4 separate regions of the Homo sapiens genome follow, and all the other regions are linked to region 1. Evidence: promoter capture Hi-C in 16 types of primary human blood cells and fetal thymus (Javierre and others, 2016). All regions are on one chromosome and are shown on one strand. Each heading gives the region's core, a stretch centred on a gene start or on the middle of the fragment in contact. The rest is flanking DNA. Distances are from core to core; before and after follow the strand shown.

Region 1 (7,503 bases), core at 2,057-4,556:
CATACCCCACATCAACATGGAGATCACACACCTCAACACGGAGATCACACACATCAACATGGAAATCACACACACATATCGAATGGGGATTACACACATCAACGTGGAGCTCATACATACACCCCAACATGGAGATCACACCCACAACACAGAGATCACACAAGTCAACATGGAGATCACACACACACATCAACATGGAAATCACACACACACATCAACATGGAAATCACACACATCAACATGGAGATCACACACACACATCAACATGGAGATTACACATACATCAACATGGAGATCACACACACATCAACATGGAGATCACACACACACATCAACATGGAGATCACATTCGCACACATCAACATGGAGATCACACACACACATCAACATGGAGATTCACACATATCAACATGGAGATCACATTCACACACATCAACATGGAGATCACATTCACACACATCAACATGGAGATCACAAACACACATCAACATGGAGATCAAATTCACACATCAACATGGAGATTACACACACATCAACATGGAGATCACATTCACACACATCTACATGGAGATCACATTCACAACACAAACATGGAGATCACACACACATATATCAAATGGGGATTACACACACATCAACCCCAACATGGAGATCACACACACAGCACAGAGATCACACATGTCAACATGGAGATCATACACACACATCAACATGGAGATCACACACACATCAACATGGAGATCACACACACATCAACATGGAGATCACACACACTCGTCAACATGGAGATCACATTCACACACATCAACATGGAGATCACACACACACATCAACATGGAGATCACACACACACGACATGGAGATCACACACACACATCAACATGGAGATCACTCACACACATCAACATGGAGATCACACACACATCAACATGGAGATCACATTCACACACATCAACATGGAGATCACACACACACAACATGGAGATTACACACACACATCAACATGGAGATCACACACACATCAACATGGAGATCACACACACACAACATGGAGATCACACACACACATCAACATGGAGATCACACACACATCAACATGGAGATCACACATACATCAACATGGAGATCACACACACACGACATGGAGATCACACACACACATCAACATGGAGATCACTCACACACATCAACATGGAGATCACACACACACATCAACATGGAGATCACATTCACACACATCAACATGGAGATCACACACACACAACATGGAGATTACACACACACATCAACATGGAGATTACACACACAACATGGAGATCACATTCACACATATCAACATGGAGATCACATTCACACACATAAACATGGAGATCACACACACACATCAACATGGAGATCACACACACATCAACATGGAGATCACACACACAACATGGAGATCACACACACACATCAACATGGAGATTACACACACATCAACATGGAGATCACATTCACACACATCAACATGGAGATCACAAACACACATCAACATGGAGATCACACACACACATCAACATGGAGATCACATTCACACACATCAACATGGAGATCACAAACACACATCAACATGGAGATCACACACACACATCAACATGGAGATTACACACACATCAACATGGAGATCACATTCACACACATCAACATGGAGATCACACACACATCAACATGGAGATCACACACACATCAACATGGAGATCACACACACACATCAACATGGAGATTACACACACATCAACATGGAGATCACATTCACACACATCAACATGGAGATCACACACACACATCAACATGGAGATCACACACACACATCAACATGGAGATTACACACACATCAACATGGAGATCACATTCGCACACATCAACATGGAGATCACACACACACAACATGGAGATCACACACACACATCAACATGGAGATTACACACACATCAACATGGAGATCACACACTCATCCACATGGAGATCACACACACACATCAACATGGAGATCACACACACATCAACATGGAGATCACATTCACACACATCAACATGGAGATCACAAACACACATCAACATGGAGATCACACACACACATCAACATGGAGATTACACACACATCAACATGGAGATCACATTCACACACATCAACATGGAGATCACACACACACATCAACATGGAGATCACACACACACGTCAACATGGAGATCACATTCACACACATCAACATGGAGATCACATTCACACACACAAACATGGAGATCACACACACATATATCAAATGGGGATTACACACACATCAACCCCAACATGGAGATCACACACACAACACAGAGATCACACAAGTCAACATGGAGATCATACACACACATCAACATGGAAATCACAAACACACAACATGGAAATCACACACACATATCAACATGGAGATCACACACACACATCAACATGGAGATCACACACACATCAACATGGCGATCACAATCACACACATCAACATGGAGATCACACACAACACAGAAATCACACACGTCAACATGGAGATTACACACACATCAACATGGAGTTCACACACACATCAACATGGAGATCACACACACTCAACATGGAGCTCACACATACACCTCAACATGGAGATCACACAACACAGAGATGACACACACAACACAGAGATCACACAAGTCAACATGGAGATCTCTCTCTCTCTACACACACACACACACACACACACACACACACACACACACACTGGCACAAGCCCAGCATTCATGGCGCAGCCATCTCTTGTACTTGCTAGCAAAACACCACCTGTGGAAAGTCAGCTCAAACTTCCAACCTCATCCCTCACAAAGGGGGAATGGAGGGTTTGGTTTTGGCTTTCACTGGAGTCTGCAACAAGAACTGGCATCATGCTGCCCATTTCCCGCCTCTCCCCACCCAGACCCCTGCCTCAGGGACGCCTGTCCTCAGCCCAGCCCTCAGCTGCAGCCAGGCCTTCAGCCTCCGTAACCCCCGCTCAGGGTCCCCACCCCCTGCAGCCCTGTCCCTCCAGGATGCATGGCCTTGTCCTGTGTGGGGGTGGCCGAGAGCACTGCCCCAGCCCTGGGTACCTTGGGCAGGAAGCTGGCAGAGGCCAGGGCTGCCATTCAAACAGGGGCAGGTGGTTTTGCCAGGAGGAAGTTGACAGTTCAACTTCAAACATGGGTGACGCAGGCCCCACACTGCCTGCTCCCCGTCCCACCCCTCCCTGAGCACGCCACCCCGCCCTCTCCCTCTCTGAGAGCGAGATACCCGGCCAGACACCCTCACCTGCGGTGCCCAGCTGCCCAGGCTGAGGCAAGAGAAGGCCAGAAACCATGCCCATGGGGTCTCTGCAACCGCTGGCCACCTTGTACCTGCTGGGGATGCTGGGTGAGTACCCCTCCCAGGTGTCCTGCGAACACCCGGGCTCGCTCCAGTGCAAGGAAGGAGTTCCCAGTTTTACCCAAGGCTGACTCTGGGATCCACATGTCAGCCCTCTGGAGCGTTGTGGAGATTTGGGGCCACTGGGATCCCTGCCTGCCCCCACTAAGCCGCAGCTTGGCCCTCTGTCCTGCATGTCCCACCCGCCAGGAGCACAACCTTGCCTCTCTCATGCGCTGTTGAGAACCCTGCTTTACCCTTCCAGTGCAAGAGAGACTGCAGGGGGGACCCGCATTTGATGGGGCCCAGACAACTTGATTCCTAGGCTGAGTTGGATTTTAGCAGAGCATTCAGGCCTCCCTCTGCGAGGTCCCCCACTGACAGCCCAGCCTTTACTTGGTCGCCTCCAGAGACATGGAAACTCGCCGTCTCCGAGGCAGCTCTGATGATGCTCTGGACAGACAGTGGGCCGAGGCAGGGTGGAGCCGCCTCTGAGGACGATGTCTGAGCAAATGTCAAGGACTCATAGCGGAAGTCCTAGGCCCTCTCATGCCCAGTCCTGGGTCAGTCCCAGAGGGGCCCAGCCAGGCCGGCTGGGATGAGTACACGCTGGGCCTGCTCTCACTCCAGCCCTGGGTTGTAAGCCCAACCCTGTGTGACCTCGGATAGGTCCCCAAGCCTCTCCAGGCCTTGATCTCCCCATTTATGAAATGTGGGGGTTGGGGGTGTGAACTGGATGAGGCCTGACCCACTTCCTGAGGATTTAGAAGGTCTGGCAGGGTGACAGAGGTGCGTGACTCTGGGCTGGAAACAGGAGGATGCGAGCAGCTTCCAGGCTGGCAGGGAGAGGGTCCGGAGGCCTTGCCTGCCTGAGCAGGGAGCCTCAGCAGCCTTCTAGGGAAACCGGGTGTGCAGGTGTGAGTGTGGGGGAATGCATGTGTGTGTGTCTGTGTGCATGTGTGTGAGAACTGTGTGTGGGGGAATGTGTGAGTCTATGTGTGTCTGTGTGAGTCTGTGTGTACGTGTGTGAGAACTGTGTTGGGGGGTAATGTGTGACTCTGTGTGTGAGTCTGTGTGTGAGTCTCTGGGCATGTGTGTGAGTACTGTGTGTAGGGGAATGTGTGAGTCTGTGTGTGAGTCTGTGTGTGAGTCTCTGGGCATGTGTGTGAGTACTGTCTGGGGGGGAATGTGTGAGTCTGTGTGTGAGTCTCTGGGCATGTGTGTGAGTACTGTGTGGGGGGGAATGTGTGAGTCTGTGTGTGAGTCTGTGTGTGAGTCTCTGGGCATGTGTGTGAGTACTGTGTGTGGGGGGGGAATGTGTGACTCTGTGTGTGAGTCTCTGGGCATGTGTGTGAGTATTTTGTGGGGGGGAAAGTGTGAGTCTGTGCGTGTGAGTCTGTGTGTGAGTCTGTGTTCATGTGTGTGAGAACTGTGTATGGGGGAATGTGTGAGTCTGTGTGTGAGTCTGTGTGTGAGTCTCTGGGCATGTGTGTGAGTACTGTGTGGGGGGAATGTGTGAGTCTGTGTGTGAGTCTGTGTGTGAGTCTGTGTGTGGGAGTCTGTGCGCATGTGTGTGAGAACTGTGTGTGTGTGCTTTCATGAGCACAATGCGGCCTCCAAAGGCAGGATTATCTCCCCAACACATGTGACAATGGCACCTGTGCACACATGTTCACATGGTTCTTCTCACATGTAACAACAACAGGTACAAAATGCCTTCTGTCCCAAAGTAAGAGGCCTGAGACAGACCTCTGGCTGGCTTCAGGGACCCTGCTAAGGAGGGACCAGGCCCTTAAACCCCCCACCTGCTCCTCACCTCTGGCCTCAGACTTCATTGAGATAGGGCGGCTCCCAGCTGAGTATGGGAACCCGTGTCCTGCTCTAGGGCCCTCCCAACTGAATCCCATCATGGGTGAGGCTCCTGATGGCACCAGGCAAGTCCCCTGGCCCAACACAGGCCACAGTCAGGAAGACTTGGAGGTAGCCCCTTCACCCCAGTATGGGGACCTCCTTGAACCCCAGGAATACTCAGTTCCCAGTGTCTGAGTGAGCCGGTGGGTACCAAGCATTCCCTTTGTTCAGTGGGTAACGGTTTACAAAGCACTTTTAAAGCCATTTTCTGCTGCAAGCTTCACAACAGCCAATGAAGTAGGTGGGCCCATTGGCCCCATTTTACAGTGGGGAAAAGCGAGGCCCAGGAAGGCCGAGTGCAAACCCAGGGTGCAGCAGCTGGTGCACAGCCGAGCTGACCCCAGCCCAGCATTCCTGCCTTCACAGAGGCCCCTCCCTTAGCTAAAAGGGAAGGCCACCAAAGGCACTTCCGTGTGCAGGAAAATGGCCCTGGGACACAACCTCCACCAGCAGAGATACAGCCACCAGAGCTGGGGACACCAAGGGCCAGGGTTGCTGGAGTCAAACAGTGCAGGCACCCTTTGAGCCATTCCAAGGAGAGAGGCAGCAATGCCAGAGCCCTGGGGACACCACAGCCTCCTGGCTGGCATCGGGGCTTGGGGACCTTTGGATCCTGAGGCATGAAGATGCCCCCAGCAGGCCTGGGTGCTAGTGACAGGCCAGGGCTTCCCACAGTTGCTCCCCTCTCAGCCCCAGCCTGCCTGGACAGCTGCTGGCAGTGAGGCGGGGAAGCGGCTCTAACACAAACTGCACGTCCCTGACTGGCCTAGCCGATGCGACTCTGAAAGCCAGCACTGGGACGTGGGAAAGTCATGGACTCTGCAGTTTGAATTCCAGTCTGCCACTTACCAACTGGGCGACCTTGGACTAGTTCTGTAAGCCTCAGTTTTCTCATCCGTAAACTGGGTGCAACAGTACCTCATAGAGGCTTATAAGGATTCAATGAATCAATGCACACAGAGCTTAAGTACAATCCTGGCATATAGTATAGTAAGTACTCAATAAACAATAATAACAGCAACAACTATGATTATTATTATTACCAGGGTCAGCAAGAAACAATGCGAGGTAGGAGCCAATGGGGAGGAGGGTCTTGCCAGAGGCCTGCACAGCCGTCAATCTCTCTACCCCTCAATCCTCTTGCACAGGCTATTTATTCACTAATTCATTCATTTTTCATCTACAAATATTATTGAGCATCTCCTGTGCATCCAGCTCTGTGCAAAACACTGGGGATACAGGGACCAAGGCAGGAGTCCCTGCCCTCAAGGATTTGATCAGCTAACAGGAGAGCTGTTAGAGAACACAAGTAAACAAGCACCAAAGACCGGGCATGGTGGCTCATGCCTGTAATCCCAGCACTTCGGGAGGCCAAGACGGGTGGATCACCTGAGGTCAGAAGTTCAAGACCAGCCTGGCCAACATGGTGAAACCTCATCTCTACTAAAAATACAAAAATTAGCCGGGAGTGGTGGCACGCACCTGTAATGCCAGCTACTCAGGAGGCTGAGGCAGGAGAACCGCTTGAACCTGGGAGGCGGAGGTTGCGGTGAGCCGAGATCGCGCCATTGCACTCCAGCCTGGGCAACAGAGCAAGACTCCATCTCAAAAAAAAAAAAAAAAAAAAGGCACCCGAAATATTTACACATTTTGAAATACTGAGTGCAATGAGGAGAACAGCAAGTTCCTCAGGCACAATACAGTCTGCACTAGGATAGGAGGACATCCCTTTGGCTGGGCAGGCAGGGAGGGCCTCTCTAAGGAGGCGAGGTCTCATCTGAGAATCCGAGACCTGAATGAGGGACGGAGCCAGCCAGGCAGAGAAAAAAGGGAAGAGGGTCCCAGGCAGAGCGGATGGCAGGGCAAAGGCAAGGGGGAAGGACAGGCCTGAGAGGGTGGGGCTCCTACTGGGAGCAGGGCAGCAGGCCCACTGTCCCAGGCTGGGCGAGGCCCTGGTTGGATCATCCTCCTCGAAGACCCAGAGCTCCCCACCTCCAGCAGGGAATGAAGGGACCTGGGGGCCCAGGAAGGGACCTGGCCTTCCTGGGTCACTCTGTCACCATCAGTTCAGAGGGGTTTTCCCTGCAGTGACCAGGCGGCGAATTCAGCTCAACCTGACAAAATTGATTGAACATCTATTCTGTGTGTGTGTGTGAAATTGAACATCT
Region 2 (7,503 bases), core at 2,212-4,711, 240 kb before region 1:
GTGTCCCCCAGGACTGGGAGAAAGATGCAGCTGCACTCAGGCTCAGGCCCTAGTCCCTAAATTACAACCTCCTCCAAGGCTTGGAACTTAATATCAGAGGCAGTAAGAGCGGAAGTCGGGTCCCTCGCTGCCTCAGCATCACCTTCTGCCGTGGAGGAGATGAATCTGAGCCTGTCGCTTCCTGGCACACGGGACCTCTGCTGCATCTCTGCTGCCCATGGGAGCTGTCCAGATTCCCAACCTAGCATTCAAGGCCTCTCAGGATCCAGTGCACCAACCACCAGTCCCTGCACCCCCTTCCTCATGTCCACAGCTACCCCATCCTTTCTTTCCCCACCTCCATGCCTTGGCACGTGCTGCTGGGAATGCCACTTCCCCTCCACGACTCATCCTGCAGGACCTCTTTCTGAGACCACCAATGTCACTAGATACTCAGAGGATACTTACAGCATCAATGTTTAACAAATACAGCCAAGGGAGCAAAGGAATGAAGGAGGGGCAGATGGAGCCCCCAAGCATAGGCCCAGCCCACATGGGCTTTCTTCTCCCTCTAGGTGGGTTTTTTATGTTCCTTTCTGGCCACTTTAAAGAAGTCAGTCAAACAGGAAGTGAGATGCAGGGCAGGAAGCAGGGTGAGGCCTGCCCTGGGATCCTCCAGCCCCTTGCTCGGAGGCCCTCGAGCTACCCACACCCAGTAGAGGAGCAGCATGGCAGGGCCCCAAATGATACCTTGGGGAGGCCCAGGTTGAGTTCCCTGGTGCCACCATCACCCACAGGACTCCTCGCATGGCCAACAAGCCCCTCGGTGATCCAGTCCCACCCAAGCCTCCCCTGGCATTGCTGCCACTCCCTAGTGGCATCCTGTCATCAGCCAGCACTCACCACTGTCCCCTCCTGTCCTGTGCACACCAGGCTTTTTCTGTACACACCAGGCTGTTTCTGTGCCCACCAGGCTGTTTCTGTGCCCTGGCTTATGCTGTTTGTGCTCTGCTCTGGAATGCCTTTTCTTCCCTTGGCCTCTCAGTGAACTCCTATTCATCCTTCAAAACCCTGGTTAGAGGTTGCCTCCTCTGGGAAGCCTTTGCTGATTCTCTCAGACCCACTTGCTGTCCCTCCTCTCCCACATCTCCACTTCACTTGACCTGCAGCCCCCCTGTCTTCCCTGGTAACTCTTGTTCACACAACTGTTCACCACCCTCATGAGCCACCTGAAGACAGAGACTTATTCCTGTTTTATCTTCTCACCTCCAAAGGCAAGCAGAGGGCCTGACACATGAGAGGGGTCCCAACATATATTTGCTGAACAGAATGAATCTCTAAAATTGGCTTCCCTGTGCAGACCTCAAAGGACCCCAGTCCCTTGTGGTGACCCATTCTGAGACCTTTACTTTTTTTTTTTTTTTTTTTTTTTTGAGACTGAGTCTCGCTCTGTTGCACAGGCTGGAGTGCAGTGGCCCTATCTTGGCTCACTGCAACCTCCGCCTCCCGGGTTGAAGCGACTCTCTTGCCTCAGCCTCCCAAGTAGCTGGGACTGCAGGCGTGCGCCACCGCACCCGGCTAATTTTTGTATTTTTAGTAGAGAAGGGGTTTCACCATGTTAGCCTGGCTGGTCTCAAACTCCTGACATCAGGTGATCTGCCTGCCTCAGCCTCCCAAAGTCCTGGGATTACAGGCCTGAGCCACTGTGTCCGGCCCCATTCTGGAACCTTTCTTACCCATGGTCTGGTGCAATTCTCCATGGCTCTGTCTTCACCTGCAGTGGGTACAACCTTGGGGACTGATCGCTTTATAGTAGGAAGGAAGACAAGAAGGCAGAGCAGGCAGAGGCAGCCCTGGCCTGGGCTCAGGCCCACACATGTGCCAGGCAATCGTCGCAGAAACAACAGTGGTGTATTTGTTTCCTCGGGCTGTCAGAACAAACTACCACAAACGTGGCAGCTTTAAACAACAGAGACTTATTCTCTTACAGTCTGGAAGCCAGAGTCTGTAATCAGATGCCAGCACTTCCTCCGAAAGCTCTAGAAAAGGAGACTTTTTGGCCCCTCCAGCTTCTGGTGGCTCCAGGCGTCCCTTGGCTTAGGGCTGCATCACTGCAATCTCTACCTCCTCTTTACCTGGCCTTCCCCCTCCCTCTTTTCATGTGTCTCTCACAGAGTACTGGTCACTGGACTTAGGGCTCATCTGGATCATCCAGGGTGCTCTCATCTTGAGATTCTTAAATTGATTACATCTGCAAAGTCCTCTTATCCAAATAAGGCCACATTCACAGGTTCCAGGGGTTAGGTTGTGGACATGTCTTTTGAGGGCCACCATTCAACACAGTGAAAGCAATAATAGCTTCTGGGTACGGTGGCTCATGCCTGCAATCCCAGCACTTCGGGAGGATGAGGCGGACAGATCACTTGAGGTCAGGAGTTCGAGACCAGCCTGGCCAACAGGCAAAACCCCATCTCTACTAAAAATACAAAAATTAGCCAGGTGTGATGGTGCACGCCTGTAATACCAGCTATTCAGGAGGCTGAGGCAGGAGAATCGCTTGAACCCAGGAGGCAGAGGTTATGGTGAGCCGAGATCCTGCCACTCCACTCCAGCCTGGGTGACAGAGCGAGACGCCATCTCAAAAAAAAAAAAAAAAAAAAAATGAAAACAGTAATAGCTAACACTTATGGGGCACTCACTATGTGCCAGCGTAAGGCTGAAACTTGCTCATGGATGAGCTCATCAAATATTCACGCACCCCTCTGAGTTAGGTACCACTATCATCGTCACTCACCAAGGGGAAAACTGAGGCTCAGAGAGCTTAAGCAACCCTACCAAGCCTGCTCAGCTGGGGAGCAGAGGAGCTGGAGTTCAGAGCCATGTGGTCCAGCAGCAGAGCCCAGCTCTTCGCAGCTGATGAGATTCTCTGAGGTTCTTTGTTCCCTCAGGGGAAGCAGGGCTGCCTGTCTTCAGTTAAATGCGCTCCCACTGGCCTTCTGGGAGCATCTCTGCGGTGAGCACGGTCCATACATACACACACAGCTGGCGCTGCTCTTGGGTTACTCTGCAGGCCCCGGAGTGAGGCAGCCTGCTTCCTGCTGGTTTCCTGGCATGCATGGATCCCCTGAAAGGGGATTTTGTCTTTCCAGCCTAGAGAGGCTCCATCCTCCTCCAGTGCCTTCCCTAGGCTCTATTCACAGAGGAGACAGGGCAAGCAACTGATACTTACACGGCGCCCCACTTAGGTGGACTGTATTCTTAGTTCCATTTTATAGATTAAGAAACTCAAGTTCCAACTGGGTGCGGTGGCTCACGCCTGTAATCCCAGCACTTTGGGAGGCTGAGGCGGGCGGATCGCAAGGTCAGGAGATCGAGACCATCCTGGCTAACACGGTGAAACCCCGTCTCTACTAAAAATATAAAAAATTAGCCGGGCATGGTGGCCAGCGCCTGCAGTCCCAGCTACTCGGGAGGCTAAGGCTGGAGAATGGTGTGAACCGGGAGGCGGAGCTTGCAGTGAGCCGAGATCGCGCCACTGCACTCCAGCCTGGGCGACAGAGTGAGACTCTGTCTCAAAACAAAACAAAAAAAAAAAAAGAAAGAAAAGAAACTGAAGTTCCATTAAAAAAAAATTCATAGGTTAAAAACAGAAAGAAAGAAATGAACAAACAGGTTTACAAACAGGCCAAGTGGCCAGGTGTGGAGGCTCATGCCTGTAATCCCAGCACTTTGGGAGACAGAGGCGGGCAGATTGCTTGAGCCCAGGAGTTTGAGACCAGCCTGGGCAATATAGCAAGACCCCATCTCTAAAAAAAAACCCAAAAACCAGAAGCCAAGTGGATAAAGCCAAGATTCCAAGTCAAGTCACCTCCATCTGACCCTCTCTCTTTATCAATAAAAATAATCGTGGTTGTAATGGCTATCGTGTTCAAATGATGACCATGTGCAGACCCTGTTCTGCCTGCTTCACATGGATTATCTCATTTAATCCTCAGAGCAACCCTACAATTTAGGTGCTATTATAACCCCATTTTATAGATGAGGAAAGCAAGTCACAGAGCAGGGAAGGGACTTTTCCAAGGTCTCCAGTGGGTGAGCAGAGGAGCTGGGATCCTCCCAGGCTGATAATTCTTGGTGTCCATGAGTCTTTGCAAGAACGTAGAGTCGTAACCGAGGGCTCAGGGCGCTCGTGCGCGCTCTCTCTCTCTCTTGGATACTCTGGTACCCTTTTCCCAAAGGTGTTCTGCCCTTGGCCCTGAGGAAGCCCCCCTTCTCTTTCCCTGCCCATTTCCAGCACCTTGGGAGACGTACTTTCCCCATGGGTCCATGACCAGTGGGGAAACACCTCTCCGTGTCTTATGTAATTGCATCCCCACCATAATCATTCTCATCCTTACTCTCCAGATAGAGGAAAAAAGCCGGTAAGTGACTTCCCAGGGCCCTTGTGCTCATAAACAGTGAGCACCAGGCAAAATCCAGGCCTCTCAAAGACTCCAGCTGATTCTCTCTCTGGCCCCTAAAAGCCCCCGTTAGGAAAAGTTCTCTCTTATGATAGCAAATAAATGCAGAAGGAAGGGTAGAGTTAGAGAACCACCACCCACTTGGCAACCACACTAGCCAGTGAACATTTGAAGAGGAGCAGGATTGATTACATAGTCTCAAAGTATCTCCCTGTAAGATACTCATGAATTACAAAGAGAAACATCATTACTTTATGGTGGAGAAACCTGGCAGACACCACCTTATCCAAGTGATCAAAGTCACATCAGCAATAACAGGACAAGCCAGCGGGGTGTGCCTCGAGATACTGAGAAGGACACAACATCACTTCTGTACAAGCTGAATTGTATCCCCCCAAAATTCATATGCGAAATCCCTAACCCTCCACCCCCATCCCTCAGAATGTGACTGTATTTGGAGATAGAGCTTTTAAAGATGTGATTTAAGATTGAGCCCCTTAAGGTGGCCCTAATCCAATCTGACTGGTGTCCTTAGAAGAAGAGGAAATTTGTTTTTGTTTTTTGGGATGGAGTTTCACTCTGTCTTCCAGACTGGAGTGCAGTGGTGCCGTCTTGGCTCCCTGCAACCTCCACCTCCCAGGTTCAAGTGATTCTCCCACCTCAGCCTCCTGAGGAGCTGGGATTGCAGGTGTGCACCACCACACCCAACTAATTAGTTTGTATTTTTAGTAGAGATGGGGTTTCACCATGTTGGCCAGGCTGGTCTCAAACTCCTGACCTCAAGTGATCTGCCCACCTCGGCCTCCCAAAGTGCTAGGATTACAGGCGTGAGCCACCGTGCCAGCCAGAAGAAGAGGGAATTTGACCATTCAAAGAGACACCAAGGACGCACCAGCACAGGGGAAAGACCACGTGAGGACTCAGTGAGAAGACGGTTGTCTGCAGGCCAAAGAGAGAGGCCTCAGGAGCAACCAGACCTGCCACCACTTTGACCTAGCACATCCAGGCTCCAGAGCTGTGAGAAAAAGACTTATTTAAGCCACTCAGTCTGTATTTTGTTACAGCAGCCAAACGGACTAATACAAGGCCAAGATGCATCAACTAAATCTAATGTAACCAGGAGAAAACACCAGACAAACCCAAACTGAGGGCCATTCTGCAAAATCATCCGGCTGTACTAAAAAATGTCAAGGGTATGAAAGACAAAAGAAGATAGAAGGGCGGTCCCAGATCAGAGGAGGCCAAGAGGCACGCCAGCGAGACTCTGAGCCTGGATTGGATCCTGCAGACTCCCAAAACCACTGTACTCCTTTGCCATGAAAGTCACAGTTAGGACAGTCGGCAGATGTTGAGTAATTGTCAGAGCAGGAGCACCGTCATCTCGGACAAATACTGCCACTTTAAGCTCCAGCTCCCTTTCTAGCCTCATGCATTTCAAGGAAATCACTTCTCTTCTAACTACAACAGCCAGAAAGAGCAGACAGTAAAATACAGATAAGACAGCTCCGGCACAGAGCGGGGTGGAGGGAAGGTCTCTTTGGTAACTGCCAAACTTCACCCTCACACAATGAGCCCCAGTAAAACAGTGGGCCTTAATAAGCACATTCCTTTTCCTTCAGGGGCACTAAGATAGGGAAGCTAAAAGCAGACTCTGGGGATATGCCTGTAGCTGCAGAAAGATATATGGGAACAGACACACAACTCTCCCTCCCAGATACGCACAGCAAAGAGACACAGGAGCAGTCCAAGCCTCTGATAAACTCCCCCGCCCTGAATCCTTAACTCTTAATCTGTAAGAGAGTGGGGCTCTGACCTAACTCGGCCAGCCGCCCCTCTCAGGTTTACTCAACATAAACCTGTCCCTGTTGCCTGTTGAACCGCCCTTTCATGTTGCTTTCCTCTTTATTTCTTACAATAATGTCTGCAGATTAGATCGTTGTGTTTATACCATTGTTGGTTTCCTGATTTTGATCATTTGACTGTAGGGGTGATTTGTTTTTTTAGGAAATGTATACTGAAGCAATTAGAGGTAAAGGGGAATCTGTCATTTCTGCAACTGACTCTTGAATGATATGGAAGAATGTGTGCGTGTGTGCGTGTGCGTGCGTGTATGTCTGCACACATGCAGAGAGAGAAAGCGGGAGCTACAGCAAATGTAAAAAGTGAACAGTGAACATCTGAGGAATCTGGAGGAGGCTATATGGAAATTCTGCAAATCTGAAATAATTTCAAAATTAAAAGTTTAAAACTTCCACATCGTCCCTCAGGGAAAATCCACCCCACTCCCCGCTCCTGCCTGGCTCCTCTCCTTCCCCTCCTAGTCCTTCCCTCGCCAGCACCCTCAGCCTGCCTGGAGTCCTTGTCCTGGACCTTTGTGTGACCTGCTTCCTCCCTCCTCCTCCAGCTCTGCTCTCCCCAGATCCCCATTGCACCATCCCTGTCCTCCCCGCCTCCTCCCACCTCTGCTCAGGACCCCTTTCCTCCAAAAACACTTCCATGTCGCCCATCCTCGATGCTGTGTTGGGTGCCTCTTCCCACTGTGCCCCCAGAGGGACTCCCACCCCGCCCCACCAAGCTTTCCCAGCTGAGCTTTAATCACAGTAGAAGTGAATTATTGCCAAGCATTAAATCATTACTGCACCTGGTACCCATGACTTGTCTCTTTGTGTCTTCCTATCCACCATGTGGGCAAGGAAAGCATTATCACCCCCAGTTTACAAACAGGAAACCTGAGGCTCAGAATAGATAATGCATCTGAGTCACAGCTAAGAAAGTGGTTGGGGCACCATTAGAACCAACTTTTTTTGTTTAAACTTTTATTTTAGGTTCAGGGTTACTTATGCAGGTTTGTTATATAGGTAAATGCATGTCCAGAGGGATTGTTGTACAGATTATTTCATCACCCAGATACTAAGCCTAGCACCCAATAGTTATTATTTCCACCCTTCTCCTTCCTCTTACCCTCTACCCTTCAATAGGCCCCAGTGTGTGCCATTCCCCTCTATGTGTCCATATGTTGTCATCATTTAGCCTTCAGTTATAAGTGAGAACATGTGGTATTGGT
Region 3 (7,503 bases), core at 3,224-5,723, 200 kb before region 1:
GTGGCTGTGACAATTTCTTAAAATAAGACAACAAAGAAGTTTGCCACATCATTTGATTCTTCCTTTGACAAAAGATTTCTCTGTGATGGATGCTGTTTGATAGCATTTTACCCACAGTAGAACTTTCAGAACTGGAATCAATCCTCTCAAATTCTGCACCTGCTTTATCAATTAAGTTTATGTAATATTCTAAATCCTTCATTATCATTTCAACAATGTTCACGGCATCTTCACCAGTAGAAGATTCCATCAAGAAACCACTTTCTTTGGTCATCCCTAAGAGCTCCTCATCCATTAAAGTTTTAACATGAGATTGCAGCAATTCAGTCCCATCTTTAGACTCCCCTTTGGATTCTAATTCTCTTACCATTTCCTCCACATCTGCAGTTACTCCCTCCATGGAAGTCCTCAATCCCTCAAAGTCATCCATGAGGGCTGAAGGGTTGGAATCAATTTCTTCCAAACTCCTCTTTATGTTCATAGTTTAACCTCCTCCCATGAATCACAAATGTTCTTAAGGGCGTGTAGAATGGTGAATCCTTTCCAGGTTTTCAATTTACTTTGTCCAGATCCATCAAAGGAACCACTATCCAGGGCAGCTATAGCTTTATAAAATGTATTTCTTAAGTAATAAGACTTGAAAGTCAAAATTACTCCTTGATCCATAAGCCGAAGATTGGATGTTGCAGGCATGAAACATCTCCATCTGAGCTTTAGGGTAATGAGGTGCACTGTAATATTTTGAAAGGAATCTATTTTTCTGAACAGTACCTCTTAATGGGGGGCTTAAAAAATATTCAGTAAACCATGCTGTAAACAGATGTGTTGTCATCCAGACTTTGTTGTTCTATTTACAGAGCACAGGCAGAGTAGATTTAGCCCCACCTTCTTAAGGGCCCTACAATTTTCAGAATGCTAAATGAGCTTTGGCTTCAATGTAAAATCACCAGCTGCATTAGTCCCTAACAAGGGAATCACTCTGATCTTTGCATCTTGGAAACCAGGCATTGACTTCTCTCTAGCTGTGCAAGTTCCAGATGTCACTTTCTTCCAATAGAAGGCTATTCCGTCTACATTGAAAATCTGTTGTTGAGTGTACCCACCGTCAATGATCTTAGCTAGGTCTTCCGGATAACTTGCTGCAGCTTCTACAACAGCATCTGCTGCTTCACCTTGTACTTTTCTGTTATGGAGATGGCTTCTTTCCTTAAACCTCATGAACCAACCTCTGCTAGCTTCAAACTTTTCTTTTGTAGCTTCCTCACCTGTCTCAGCCTTCACAGAATTCAAGAGTTAGGATCTTGGTCTGGATTATGGTTTGGCTTAAAAGAATGTTGTGGCTGGTTTGATATTCTATCCAGACCACTGAAACTTTCTCCATATCAGCAATAAGGATGTTCTGCTTTCTTATCATTTGTGCGTTCACTGGAGTAGCACTTTTAATTTCCTTCAAGAATTTTCCTTTGCTTTCATAACTTGACTAATATTTGGTGTTGAGGCCTAGCTTTTGGCCTATTTGGCTTTTCACATGCCTTCTTCACTAAGCTCAATCATTTCTAGCTTTGGATTTTAAGTAACAGACATGGGACACTTTCTTTCACTTGGACACCGAGAGGCCATAATACGGTTATTAACTGGCCTAGTTTCAATATTGTTGTGTCTAAGGAAATAGGGAAGTCTGAGAGGGAGAGAGATGGGGAACGGCTGGTGGGTGGAGTGGTCAGAACACACACAGCATTTCATTTATCAAATAAATTCAGTAACTTTTATGGGCACATTTCATGGTGCCCCCCCGCCCAACAATTACAATAGCAACATCAAAGATCACTAACGGACACAATAAATCATGAAGAAGTTTGAAATACTGTAAGAATTACCAAAATTTGACACACAGACACAAAGTGAACACATGTTGTTGGAAAAATGGTACTGACAGACTTGCTTGGGGCAAGGTTGCCAAAAACCTTCAATTTATAAAAAGCAAAGTATCCATAAAATACAATAAAGCTAAGTGCAATAAGACAAGGTATGCCTATACTATACTTTTTTTGGTATTAAATATACTCTTCCCACTTATAAAAAAAAGTTAACTGTAAAACAGCACCAAGCAGGCCCTTTCAGGAGGTATCCGAGAAGAAGGCATTATCATCATAGGAGATGACAGGTTTATGCATGTTGGTGCCCCCGAAGACCTTCCGGTGGGAAAAGATGTGGAGGTAGAAGACAGTGATGTTGGTGCTATGGTTAGGCTTTGTGCCGCCACCCAAATCTCATCTTGAATTGTAGTGCCCATAATCCCCACGTGTTGTGGGAGGGAGCCAGTGGGAAGTAACTGAATCATGGGGGTGGTTACCCCCATGCTGTTCTCATGATAGTGAGTTCTCACGAGATCTGATGGTTTTATGAGGGGCTTTAGCCCCTTTGCTCAGCATTTGTCTCTCCTGTTGCCATGTAAAGAAAGACATGTTTGCTTTCCCTGCTGCTATGACTGTAAGTTTCCTGAGGCCTCCCGAGTCACTGTGAGTCAATTAAACCTCTTTCCCTTATCAATTACCCAGGCAGTTCTTCATAGCAGTGTGAGAACGGACTAATACAGTTGGTGATCCTGATCCTGTGTAGGCCTAGGGTAATGTGTGCTTGTGTCTTAGTTTTTAACAAGAAAAGTTTAAAAAGTAAAAAATAAAAATAAAAAAATTAGAAAAAAGCTTATAGAACAAGGATGTAAAGAGAGACAATATTTTTGTACAGCTGTACAATGTGTTTTAGTTTTAAGTTAAATGTTATTACAAAAGAATCCATTTTTTTAAGTTTATAAAGTAAAAGTCAGCTAAGGCTTATTACTGAAGAAAAAGTTTTTTATGAATTTAGTAAAACCTAAGTGTACTGTGTTTATAAAGTCTACAGCAGCGTACAGTAATGTCCTAGGCCTTCACATTCACTCACAACTCACTCACTGAAAGCAACTTCCAGTCCTGCAAGCTCCTTTCATGGCAAGCACTATACCAGTGTACCATTTTAAAAAAATCTCTTATACCTTATTTTTACTGAACCTTTTCTATGTTTACACTTGTTTAGATACACAAATACTTACCATTGTGTTATAATTGTATTCACTACATTTAATATGCTGTACCGGTTTGTAGCCTAGGAGCAATAATAGACTATACTAAGGTTATAGCAATAGTCTTGGCGTGTAGTAGGCTACACCATTTAGATATATGTAAGTTCACTCTACAATGGTCGCACATGACGATATCACCTAACAAGACATTTCTCAGAACATATCCCCATTATTAAGTGATATATAAACTGTATAAGCTTCAATCATCTGACCCTTCTGCAGATCTAATATAATGTGGGCCTCCCGTGCATATGCACGTAATTAAAATGGCTCTCCTCCTGTCACTGTCTAATGTTCATTTATTTTAGATTCAGTTATCAAAACTTCAGAGGGACTTTTCTCTCCCTTTAGTAACCTGCCCAATGCCACAGGGCATGGAAGTGGCAGAACAAGCACTAGCATCTACTGCCATGCAGTCTGACTCAGTTGCTTCCTTAGTCATAAAGCTCTGCCTCAGGTGGTAACAGAAAGCTGCTTAGGTAAATTCATGCAAGCCCTAGAAATTCCTAACCCAGTGAGGCTTCCCTCCGGGCCTGGGCACCTAGAGAGATCCCAGGAGCCCAGGACCAGCCTCTACCTGTAAAGTGAAGAATCTCCGTCCATTGTTTGCAGATGTAGATCTGGACATCCGTGCCCCCAAGAGCCAGGTAGGTACCACTCTGGTCAAAGATCAGTGACTTTACCTGCCAGAAATAGAAAGAGAGAAGGTCACACAAGGGGAACAGAAACTATGGGGCAGTTGCGGATAAGCAGAAGCAATTAGATTAATTCAATAAATAATTGACAAACAAGGAGACACAATGGAAAGCTGGGCGGAGGGGGAAGGGCACACCTCAAAGTTGTTATCCAGCTGCAAAGTCTTAAAGTTCTTAAGCTTGCGCAGATCCCAGAGCTTGACAGAGGAGTCATCAGCCGCTGTAGCCAGGTAGTAACCATTCTCAGAGAAGGCGATGCTAGTGATGGGGCCCGAGTGGCCAGGGAAGTTGGCCACATTAGTACGTTCCTACAGTGGCGGTGGGTAGTAAAATACGTCACCCACAGATCATGAGAGGAAGAAAATGGGGCTCACCAAACTCCTACCTGAGATGTCCCTCACGTCCTTCCAGGAAGGACAGCCAGCGGGACCCCCCAGACCACACCATCATATCACACACGCACAGCCAGTGTCTCTCCACCTTCAGGGCCAGGTGCCACAAGCACCTAATTAGCACTGCATTGTCACAAACACTCCCTCTGGCCCTGGGCCTCAGATGGAGGCCTACCATGTCCTACCTTCAAGTCCCAGATCTTGATCTGAGAGTCCATGGTTCCTGTTCCAAAGATGAGTCCGTCAGGGTGGAACTGTGCACAGGTGAGAGCTGTGGAGGAGGGAAGAGAGACCTGTGGTCAGAGCCCACCAGGGAGAGAGACTAAGAGCAGCAAAGGTAGGTTCCTTGTTCTTCACATTCCTCAGTGAACCCAGCACAAAGCCCGCACTAGACAGGTGCTCATGGTAAATATATCTTTAGAACAAATAAACAAATGACTAAATAAAATGTAAAAATAAATAATAAACAGCAAACAAAAAAGCTGAGTGCCTATGAGGCAACTTACAGCAGCCGGAGGTCTCATCTGTCACCTTGGTGAGCACACGCCCTGTCTGGATGTCAGAGAAAGCCCAGTACTGGGGAAAAAAAAAGAGACAATGGAGTCAGTGAGAAAGTGGGTCCCAGGTTCTGGTGGCCCTTCAGCAAGACAGAGCCCCTGGTTTGGCAAACCCTGGCAAACATTCTCCTTTGAGGTTCTGGGGAACCAGCTGGGGTGGGAAGATGTTCCTGCCACCCAGGATGTTCAAGCTTGGGGACCAGCAGGCCTCTCCAGGGCACTGGCTGGGACCGCACCTGATCATCGGAGGAGCTCAGGAGATAGTCGCCAGTGGCATGAAGGCTGAGGCCTGTCACAGCACTCTCATGGGCCCGAACCACCTGTACACAAGAGGCATTGGGGACCGACCAAATCCTGATAGTGGCATCGGGGGAAGCAGAAAACACCAGGTCCTACAAGGAAAACAAAGACAGAATATCAGAGTCAGAAAAGAGATACAGACCAAAACAATCTTATAAAACGGGGCTGGGGATGCCCACAACTGCCAACAATTGCTTCTCCTTTCAGCTCTGCCCTCCCTGGAACCACCTATCCACCCAATGGTGCCCAAGACAGCCAATGGTAAACGCTATTAAAGTGCTAACTCATACAGCATCAGGGCTTGTGGAGGCGTCCTCGCCATCTAGTGGTAAAAAGGCTAACTGCAACAGAGAGCAATTTTCCCATTTCCAGGACCAAAGGAAAAATGTAGCTAGTACAATTGAGGGACTGAATTTTTTATTCTATTTCATTGAAATTTAAATAGCCACATGCAGCTAACTGCTACTGTACTGTATGGCACAGGTCTGAGCAGTACTGGGACTGGAAGGGGCTGCATGGCTGTATTTCAGTGCATTCCACTTTTATGGATTTCCAGGGTAAGTTAATTTTCCAAAAGATTTGGGGCAGGGAGAGAATTTCGCGTCACTCACCAATTTTTTGTTTAGTTAGGATATTAAAAGCCATAAGGTAAAAATAACTACCATCTTTTTTTATCAATACAATTTCATGAGACCTAACTATTAATACCCCATAAGCAAGAAAACAGTGCTCTCAATTTGAACAAATTTAGTCATGAAAAATTCACCATGTTATTCTTATATTTCTCATTTCCCTAAGGTCCAAGGGAAATCTTGACTGCGAAGCACTAAACCAACCATGTCCTGCAGCCCCAAACCCAAACTGTCTTAGGCTTAAAATTCGAATCCCATAATATCATTAATCTGGTCCCATGAGTTACCTTTACCCTGTAAACCAGAGGTTCTGTTTACAACCTACACCACTTTCAACAGTCAACATGATTTTTACCCATCTTGGAGGATCATGGGAAAGCAGATATATCTGTCCTCCTCGTAAGTGTGAGTTGAGATTGTGTTGAGCTTTGTTTTCTGTAGTTTATATTAGGAACACTATAAGATTTTTTCTTTCCCTAATATGAAATATTTCAATGAATATGCTTGTCAAACTACACATTTCCGTTCTCTCCCTGGCTGGAAGATCACTGCTTTAGAAGGTCTCACGCAGAGTGAAGGGCAATCTCCACAACTCCAAAGTGAGCCCCTCCAAGTGCCCACTCAGGAGTCAGAGTCAGAGCTCTTTCCCAGCCCCACTTCACAGAGACAGCAGCGGGGTGAGGGACAAACAACAGCCAAGGAAAGAAGAACCAAGGGTGGCGAGGAGAACCCCTTACCTGGGAAGGGTGAAACACCACGCTGGTGACCTTCTTGGTATGGCCTTTGAGGGTAGCCAGGATTTGTTCAGAACTTTTGTCAAACACAACGACATTTTTATCCGCCCCACCTGGAGAAGACCCAAAAAGACCAAACAATGAGTCAGGCCCACCCAGGCCCTTTTGCTCAAGGAAATGCTTTTGTTCCCATGCCCATGAAGAGGACAAGGAGCATGCGCCTTCCCTGCTGCCCCTCCCCACTTTGGCCTGCCGGGCTAGGCCCAGACTCTCACCAGTGAGGATCTTGTTGGTGTCGGACGGGCAGAGGTCCAGGGCCAGGATCCCAGGAATGCTGGCACTGTGCAACCCCTTTGCAGAGAGACACACCAAACCCTGTCACGGCCAAATCACAGCAGGCCACAAAGCCACAGACCTCCCCTACTGCCATCTCCAGTCACCCATGTTCTCAGGGGAGCAAGAGTTACTTCTATTCCTTATCCATACCTCTTGGCTATCTGCCTGGTACGGTAACTCCCTCACTGCATCACTAGGAAACCCACAGCTGGGCAGAAAGAGGAGCCCTGACAACTCAGCAGCCCAGGCGAGAAACAGCACCAGGAACAGCGCCAGGAACCTGGGACAGCTCTGCACTCAGCACTCCCCATGCTGGCCCGCCCACCCCAGAAACAAAACGGGAGGGCTGTCTCCAAGACAGTGGAGACCCAGACACTCACCACGTGGGATGCCACCTGCCGGTATTTGCTGAGCTCTTCTGGCTTCACCAGCTCCTCAGGCACAGTCTTCCCTCTCTGAGAAAATGAAAAGCCCCCAAAGAAGAGCAGCAATGAATCCAAGATTCAGCCGCCCTCTCTCTCCTAAGGAGTCAACCGCCTCCCACCAGGCCAGCTCTTTCTCCAGGCTTCAGAAAGAGAACTCACCTTCTTGCGCTCCGTGGTTAGCACAGTGGCTTTGTCTTGAAGCTGGGGAAGAACAGGCTCAATGTGAGACAAATCATCTTGCAAGGAGAAAAGTACATTAGATGCTGGTCACACCTGTGCTTTCAAAAGCAGCACCAAGAACTTGCTATCTG
Region 4 (7,503 bases), core at 3,315-5,814, 170 kb before region 1:
GGTGGGGAGGGCCAGGAAGGAGGTTGAAACCAATTCCCCCACCCCCACCCACAGTCCAGCTGTGGGGCTGAGAGGGAGCTAGCTGTGGGGTTGCTTTCAGCCACCTGCTCCCCATCCCGAGGGACGCCATGGGAGTCCTAATAGAGAGAGGAGGAAAACCTTGTCAAATCCATTATGCAGCAGCAATAATGCCTGCTCCCTCCAGACAGCACTCCACAGTTTACACAGCCCTGTCCTGTCCACAGTGCCACCTAATGCTCCTGCCCCTTTTACAAGTGAGGAAACAGGCTTCAAAATGTTAATGCCTGACCCAAGTTTCATCAATTTAAATTCAGGTCTCCAGGCTCCCAGGAAATCCTCTCTAGGGAGCGCTTCCTAGTTTGGGGGAATTCCAGGATGAGCAAGACAGGGTCCCTTGTTTATAGGAAGATTACTAATTCAGAGGAGGCACCCAGGGTTGCAAAAGACAGGAGACTGGTGGGAAGGTGAGTAACCAAGGAGGGCTTCCTTCAGAAGGAGGCAGTATTCACTCATGGCCCTGAATGAGGAGGGAGGTGCCACCGGGCAGAGCAGAGGAGAGGAGGTGCGCTCCAGGGCATGAAGCCTGCAGGGTGCACCGTGGCAGTGGAGAGTGGAGAGAGAAGTGGCAGGTGGAGACGCCGGATGGTCTAGTGGCTAATACCTGGGATCAACCCCCAGCTCCTTCACTCTCCAGCTGTGGAACCACAGGCAAATACCTTAACCTCTCGGCCTCATTTTCTACATCCACAAAATGGGATTCATCATAATAGAACCTGGTTCACAGAATTATTACAAAGACTCAAAGAGTTCATATACATACAGTATTTAAATTCTCACCTGCATATAGCATTCACAAAATGCTAATTATTATTATTAGTGCTCATAGTTAGAGCAAACCAATATGGCTTAGTGCTCCTTTGTCCTTCTGATGATTGACTATTTTGACTGTCTTCCCCAGGCTCCTGGTCCCCACCCCACCCCCAGGGCAAGCAAGTGCCTTCACAGACCTCTTCAGCACCTTCCGCGCCCGCCCATCCCACACTTGCACTCGATACCAGTCGGTTCAGGGAAGAAGGGAGCAAGCTTGGAAAGATGGTGCAGGTTGCCATGGCAATGATGGGGGAGGAGGGGTGGATGCCCAGCAGAGCCTGGCCAAGGATTCAGGGCAGAGAAAGCTCACTTCATTACCATATTTTACTACACTGGCCCAGTCTGCCGACGGTTGCACCCCAGAAGTGCCTTGGTATCAGAGGCGAGTAGATGGAGGGCAGGAGTTGGGGAAAAGGAGACATTGAGAAGGCTGTTGGCGAGAAGAAGGCCAAGGTCTGTGGAAAGTAGAAGGAATAGCTGGGAAGCATCCAGTCCTGGACTCAGATTCGAATCCTGGCTTTGCTACATACTACCTGTGTGAGGCTCTTTAAGCCTCAGTGACCTCATCTGTGAAATGGTGGTGAGAGGGGAAGGGACATTTACAGCCCTTTTCTCCCTCCCTTGCCCACAACTACTGTGCCCCAGCATGGCACCCGGGTCAGCCCCTGCCAGCTCTGGAGCTGTCATCATCTCTCCCTCTTATGCCTCTTCAGTGGACTGTGGCCAGGCTCCCCTGGACCCTGTCTACCTGCCGGCAGCCCTGGAGCTCCTAGACGCCCCTGAACACTTCCGTGTGCAGCAGGTGGGCCACTACCCACCTGCCAACTCCTCTCTGAGCTCCCGATCTGAGACCTTTCTGCTCCTACAGCCCTGGCCCAGGGCCCAGCCACTTCTCCGGGCCTCCTACCCACCTTTTGCCACTCAGCAGGTAAGGAGGGGGCACCGGGGACTCTCAGGCTAACAGGACTCAGGGCCTGAGGTCTGCTGGGTACAAATTGGGAGCCTTCCCCAGCCCCGGCTGTGCTCCCCATATTCCAGAGGGGGAAACTGAGGCCCATAAAGGTTCTCTTCTGCCAAGCTGGGATCCCATCTTCCTAGATCTTCCCCTCCCAAGCTCCTCTTTTGTTAAGCCCTCTCATTCTCCCTCCAGGTGGTCCCCCCTCGAGTCACTGAGCCCCACCAACGGCCAGTCCCATGGGACGTGCGGGCCGTTTCAGTGGAAGCGGCTGTGACTCCAGCAGAGCCCTACGCCCGGGTTCTCTTCCACCTCAAAGGGCAGGATTGGCCACCAGGGTCTGGCAGCCTGCCCTGTGCCCGGCTCCATGCCACACACCCTGCCGGCACTGCTCACCAAGCCTGCCGCTTCCAGGTGAGTAGACAGGCCCCACCTAGGCTGGTCCTGCTGCAGCTGCATCAGCCAGGTGGTGGGCCCGCGGCAGAGAGGAAACCCCCACTCCTGGGAAGCGCGGGGGTTGTGGACCACCCGACTCCATTTCTGCCCCCACTAGCTTTCAGTGCTGTGAAAAGGTTATTTAGGGCCCCAGAGGGAGTTCAGTCCTTGGTGTGTGACTTTGAGTAAGTAACTTAATCTCTCTGAGATTCAGTTTCCTCATCTGAAGAATGGGGTGTTAAGAATTCCTACCCCATCTGGAGTTGGAGTAAGGAACAAGTGAGATGAATGTAAGGATAGCTTACGGCAGAGTAATCAATCAGCCAGTGTGTTTGCATTATTAGTAGTGTTACTTTTATAATTGCTATTTCCACTATTTTGGAGTCTAGCACAGGAATCCATGGGAGAGGCGTCTCTTGAGCTTTAGGATTCTGAGAAGAAGACTGGATTCTAGGCAGGATAGTCCTGGGCTTGGTTAGGGTAAGGCCCTGGGATTGGCTTACTTTGTAATGAGACCTATCCCAAGGGCTGAAGAGTGGTCTGCGGACATGCTCTGAAACCTAGACCTGGTTTGAAGCCCCAGCCAGGTTGCTGGTTTGCTGTGTCACTCAGGCTGTGTCTCCGGCCCATGCTGGGCCTCCCTTTCATGAGCCCCTCCAGCTCTGGGTTTCCTGCCATGGGTGCTGAGAATCCTGTTCCTCGCCCTGCACCCACCCCCATGCCAATTACTGCTGTCGTGTCTTCACAGCCATCCCTGGGCGCCTGCGTGGTGGAGCTGGAGCTTCCCTCGCACTGGTTCTCACAGGCCTCCACCACACGGGCCGAGCTGGCCTACACGCTTGAGCCTGCAGCTGAGGGCCCTGGGGGCTGTGGCTCCGGCGAGGAGAACGACCCTGGGGAGCAGGCCCTCCCAGTGGGGGGTGTGGAGCTGCGCCCAGCAGACCCCCCGCAGTACCAGGAGGTACCTCTGGACGAGGCTGTGACTCTGCGGGTGCCTGACATGCCAGTGCGGCCCGGCCAGCTCTTTAGTGCTACCCTCCTGCTTCGGCACAACTTCACAGCCAGCCTCCTGACCCTGCGGTGAGCACCAGGCCACGGGGATGGGTGAGGGTGGGAACCTCTGTGGGAAGACTAGGGACAGGTACCTGCTCCTCCTGGGGTCCTTGCTGGAATCCTTGACCTCTGCAAAACATGTGTCCACCAAACTAAACTCCTTCCAGGTAAAAAGCCATGACTGTGCTGGTAGGAGCCCACCATGGGCACAGCCCTGGAATTAGAGTCAGAAGTAGGAAGCTGCCCCTTCCCCTGGCACCTCCCTGAGATTCCTTTGTCCAATGGGGCTAACGGTCCACCTTCAGGGCAGCTGCAAGTCTCCAGGGAGGGGAACCCGCAAAGGGCTTAGAGACTGCAGTACCTAAGTGTGAGCTCTTGCTCCAGTGCTCCAGAGAGGGATATTTGCCCCAATCACGTTCACCTACATGCTGTCCCTCCTTGCCACCCTCGCCGTAGGAGTCTAGCCTTTGGACAGAGCTTGCTCTTCCCCATAGGAAGGCCCTGATTCTTTGTGTCCTTTTCCGTAATAAGTTCCCCCAAAGCAGCCCCCACCCACCTACCCAGTTCACCCGGCAAGGGCTTGCAGAGTATGACTTGCTTCTGGAGTCCAGCGCAGGAATCCATGGGAGAGGCATCTCTTAGGCTTTAAGATTCTGAGAAGCCTGAGTTCTAGGCAGGATAGTCCTGGGCTTGGTTAGGGTGAGGCACTGGGACTTGCTCACTTTGTAATGATATCTTTCCTGAGGATCGAAGAGCGGTCTGTGGACATGCTTTGAAACCTAGACCTAGTTTCAAGCCCTGCCTGGGTTTGTGCATGTCCCGTCTCTGTGTCTCCCCATCTCCTACGCCCTCCTATGCTCACTCTTATTAAGCAGATCTTTCCTAGACACTTACAGCCTGCCAAGCCCTGTGTCTTCACTCTGCAGATCCAAACACGAGCAAGGGCCAGTCCCTATCTGGCAGAAAGGGGCCCCAGTGGTAGGGAAGGGAGCTGGATGGGCATGAATTGGATTAGAAGGCATGTGGGTGTGTAAGCACTGAGGGAGGTTCAAAGTGCGGTGGGAGCTCAGGTGAGTGGGTGCAGTAAGGGGGAAATTCATCCCACCACTGGAAAAGCTTTCTAAAGGAAATGGTCTGTGAGTTGTTGGAGGCTTAAAGCATCAGCAGGTAAAGTAAGAAAGGGCAGAGCAGGCTGAAGGCACAGACTGGGCAAAGGCTTGGAGTCACGAATGGGTGCCGTGTGTGTGGGAAACTTGTGTGTAGCTGAAGCAGAGAGTGCATGGAGAGATGTCACAACCGAAGTTAAGGCTGGACCAGACCCTGGAGGGCCCCCAAATGCCCGGCTAAGCTTTGACCTTATGGGCAGTGGGGAGGCGTAAGTGGTCTTTGGGTGGGGGAGAGCTGTAAGGTGTGAGCTGCACTGAGGCGGGGTCCTTCTGGGTTGGAGGATGGTGAAGAGGAGATTCAGACTGGAGCCAGGGAGGTCAGATGGCTTTGGCTCCTTGTCTTTCCCCTTCAATCCAGCCCACAGTTCAGCATGCACCTTGCCAAACTGAGCCTATACTCTCTTCCCCAGGATCAAGGTGAAGAAGGGGCTGCATGTGACAGCCGCCCGCCCAGCCCAGCCCACACTCTGGACTGCCAAGCTGGACCGCTTCAAGGGCTCCAGGCACCACACCACCCTCATCACCTGCCACCGTGCTGGGCTCACAGAGCCAGATTCCAGGTGGGCAGTTTCCCTCCACCCAGGGGGCAAAGGAGGGAGGGCTGGTTATAGAGTGCAGTTGAGCAGATTTGGAGGCTGCCATGCTGCCTCTAGATCCCCAGGTGAGCAGACCCAAGGACAGATTTTTTCAAGGAAGCAGCACAAAGCAGGCATAATCCATTCCTTCATTCATTCATTCGGCCACTATCTTCCCAGCCCCAGCCATGTGCCAGGCATAGCAAGTGTCTGTGAGTCTTATTCTAAGAGATGCCAACCAATCCTGTGCCCCAGGTAGAGCCCTCATAGCCACTACTCCATCCCCCTGCTTCCACCAAATGATCCTTTCTCTGGGCCGTTCACATTCCCCCAAAAAGCCCAGCTGCAGTTCTGCGGTTGTGAACTCTTCTTATTCATGCCCTGAGCCTGGGTCAAGGCCATGGACTCAGTAGCCCCAGTTCGAATTCTGGTTCTGATGCTTTTGGGATGGGCAAAACCTTGGGCAAGCCAGTTAACATTCCCCTACCCAAGCCTCAGTTTCTTCACTTGTGAAATAGGAATAATAATGCATCCCTTAGCATTTTTGAAAATAAAATACAGTGCTACATATCAGGCACCCAGGACGGTTCCCAGCACATAGGTTTTTGTTTGATCAAAGGAAGCTTATCATTCAGAGGGTCAAGTGTCTGGTCCTGGGACCTGGAAGTGAATCTCCCGCATGCCACCTCAGTGGCTGTGGAAAGCGGAAGTCTGGGGGAAGCGGGCCCGGGCAGGCAGGGGAGTGAGCCACCTTGCCAGGTGGGAGGTGGTTAAATGGCTTCATGGATCTTAGAGAGGCCAAGAGTGGGTCAGAGTTTGGGGTCTAGAGCGAGGATGCTTGGGTTTAGATCCCAGCCCCGCTACTTTTTGCTGTGTGGTCTTAAGTGAGCTATGTAACCTCTGTGCCTCAGTTTCCTCCTGTGTAAAATGGGGATAATCATGAATGCAGGAAGTGCTGAGGCCATGCCTGGCAGCTAGCAAGCATTTGGCTTCTCTGTCTCCTTTGGCCAGCAGTCCCCTTGAACTGTCTGAGTTCCTATGGGTGGACTTTGTGGTGGAGAATAGCACTGGTGGGGGCGTAGCGGTCACTCGCCCCGTCACGTGGCAGCTGGAGTACCCAGGCCAGGCCCCTGAAGCAGAGAAGGACAAAATGGTGTGGGAAATCCTGGTGTCTGAGCGGGACATCAGAGCCCTTATCCCACTGGCCAAGGTAAGGAGACCTCCATCTCTGCCTGGGAAGGCTGGAGGCCAAGTCCCAGGAGCCCCATGAGCTGAGGGGCCTGGGGCTGAGCCCCTCCTCCACCCCCAGGCTGAGGAGCTGGTGAATACAGCACCACTGACTGGAGTGCCCCAGCATGTCCCCGTGCGCCTTGTCACTGTGGACGGCGGGGGGGCCTTGGTGGAGGTGACAGAGCATGTCGGCTGCGAGTCTGCCAACACACAGGTCCTGCAGGTGAGTGGCAGGTGCCCAGCTCATGTGAGTCTGCATTTGTGTGGGCACAGTTACGCACACACACCTTTCCTCCTTCCTCATGTGGGTCCCCAAGAGAACAGCTTCTTCTTGAGACGAGAAACCTCATGGGAGGAACCACAGCTTCAACTTCTTTTGTTCCAGCCACCTCTCTCCCGAGTCAAGTAACCCTAACAGCCCCCCGACCTTAGACACTTTCACGCTCATTATTGCACTGGCAAGTGCGCTGGCCTGAGAGAGTCGAGAGCACATACTCTGGGATCAGAAAGTTTTAGTTTGAAACACATCTTTGTTGTCAACCAGCTTTGTGATCATGGGCTGGTCTCTTAACCTCTCTGAGCCTCGTTACCTAAACTTTAAAATGAGAACATATCTTCGGGTTGTTGTAAGAATTAAAAGCACTTTAAGACAGTATTTAGCAGATAGCAGGGGCTGAAACAATGGCAGTTATTGCTGTTATAATATGATGTAATAATTATACAATGGTAAAAATTATTATTATTATTATTACCGGTGATTGTGAAGTGAAATAAAAGGGAGGGTGGTAGAGCAACTTCCTCTATCTTGAAGTTCTAAGAGGGGAAGCATGGAGTCTGCATGTATGCAAATCCCAGCCACCTGAAGGGGGAAGGTGCCTTTCCCCACTTGTGGTCCTTTGCTCAAATGTGTGTGGTTCCTGCTGGAGGGCCTTGGTGGGAGATCTGCTTTGTCCCACCTCTGCCTACCTGGCTGTAGCTGGTTGCCAGGTGGCTCCAAGAGCAATGTCAAAGGCCAGCATGAATAAGGAGCCAAAGTTTTGGGTTCACACCCCTGCTCTGCCAGGAGGAAGACTGGTATGCAATGGCCAGTTCCCCTGACTGAGCCCCAGGGAACCTCAAGGAATGGCCCCTACAGTAAAATCTTAAACAAAGAACAGGGGCTTAACCAACAATCCTGCTGCAACATGCATTCCAGTGA

The links. The method cuts DNA at HindIII sites, captures the fragments that hold promoters and counts their contacts. A CHiCAGO score of 5 or more calls a contact.
Region 2: a contact is called between a fragment that was not itself captured here and the fragment with the promoter of CD5 in region 1, in 2 of 17 cell types (naive CD8 T cells and total CD8 T cells). The highest score is 7.1, in naive CD8 T cells.
Region 3: a contact is called between a fragment that was not itself captured here and the fragment with the promoter of CD5 in region 1, in 5 of 17 cell types (total CD4 T cells, naive CD4 T cells, non-activated CD4 T cells and 2 more). The highest score is 8.5, in total CD4 T cells.
Region 4: a fragment that was not itself captured here is called in contact with the fragment with the promoter of CD5 in region 1 in 11 of 17 cell types (naive CD8 T cells, activated CD4 T cells, non-activated CD4 T cells and 8 more); the score reaches 16.0 in naive CD8 T cells.

Annotation. Positions count from the first base shown.
Region 1 is chr11:61,099,183-61,106,685 of GRCh38, forward strand. CD5 (CD5 molecule) reads left to right here and starts at 3,307. Exons shown (of 11, transcript NM_014207.4): 1 at 3,307-3,433. The coding sequence starts at 3,379. The HindIII fragment of the contact is 6,487 bases long and covers 1-5,551 here.
Region 2 is chr11:60,858,209-60,865,711 of GRCh38, forward strand. No RefSeq gene overlaps it. Among named protein-coding and RNA genes, the nearest start is that of ZP1, 5.6 kb to the right of the region's middle. RefSeq lists silencers at 5,928-6,222, 6,069-6,286. The HindIII fragment of the contact is 7,101 bases long and covers 1-7,012 here.
Region 3 is chr11:60,894,148-60,901,650 of GRCh38, forward strand. It overlaps PRPF19 (pre-mRNA processing factor 19), which reads right to left. Exons shown (of 16, transcript NM_014502.5): 7 at 7,352-7,393; 8 at 7,148-7,222; 9 at 6,707-6,782; 10 at 6,435-6,544; 11 at 5,002-5,157; 12 at 4,715-4,784; 13 at 4,394-4,479; 14 at 3,954-4,124; 15 at 3,699-3,804. Among named protein-coding and RNA genes, the nearest start is that of PRPF19, 8.7 kb to the right of the region's middle. RefSeq lists an enhancer at 4,990-5,515. The HindIII fragment of the contact is 961 bases long and covers 3,994-4,954 here.
Region 4 is chr11:60,925,600-60,933,102 of GRCh38, forward strand. It overlaps TMEM132A (transmembrane protein 132A), which reads left to right. Exons shown (of 11, transcript NM_178031.3): 2 at 1,605-1,819; 3 at 2,042-2,260; 4 at 3,030-3,361; 5 at 4,911-5,060; 6 at 6,090-6,285; 7 at 6,385-6,528. Among named protein-coding and RNA genes, the nearest start is that of TMEM132A, 4.9 kb to the left of the region's middle. The HindIII fragment of the contact is 232 bases long and covers 4,449-4,680 here.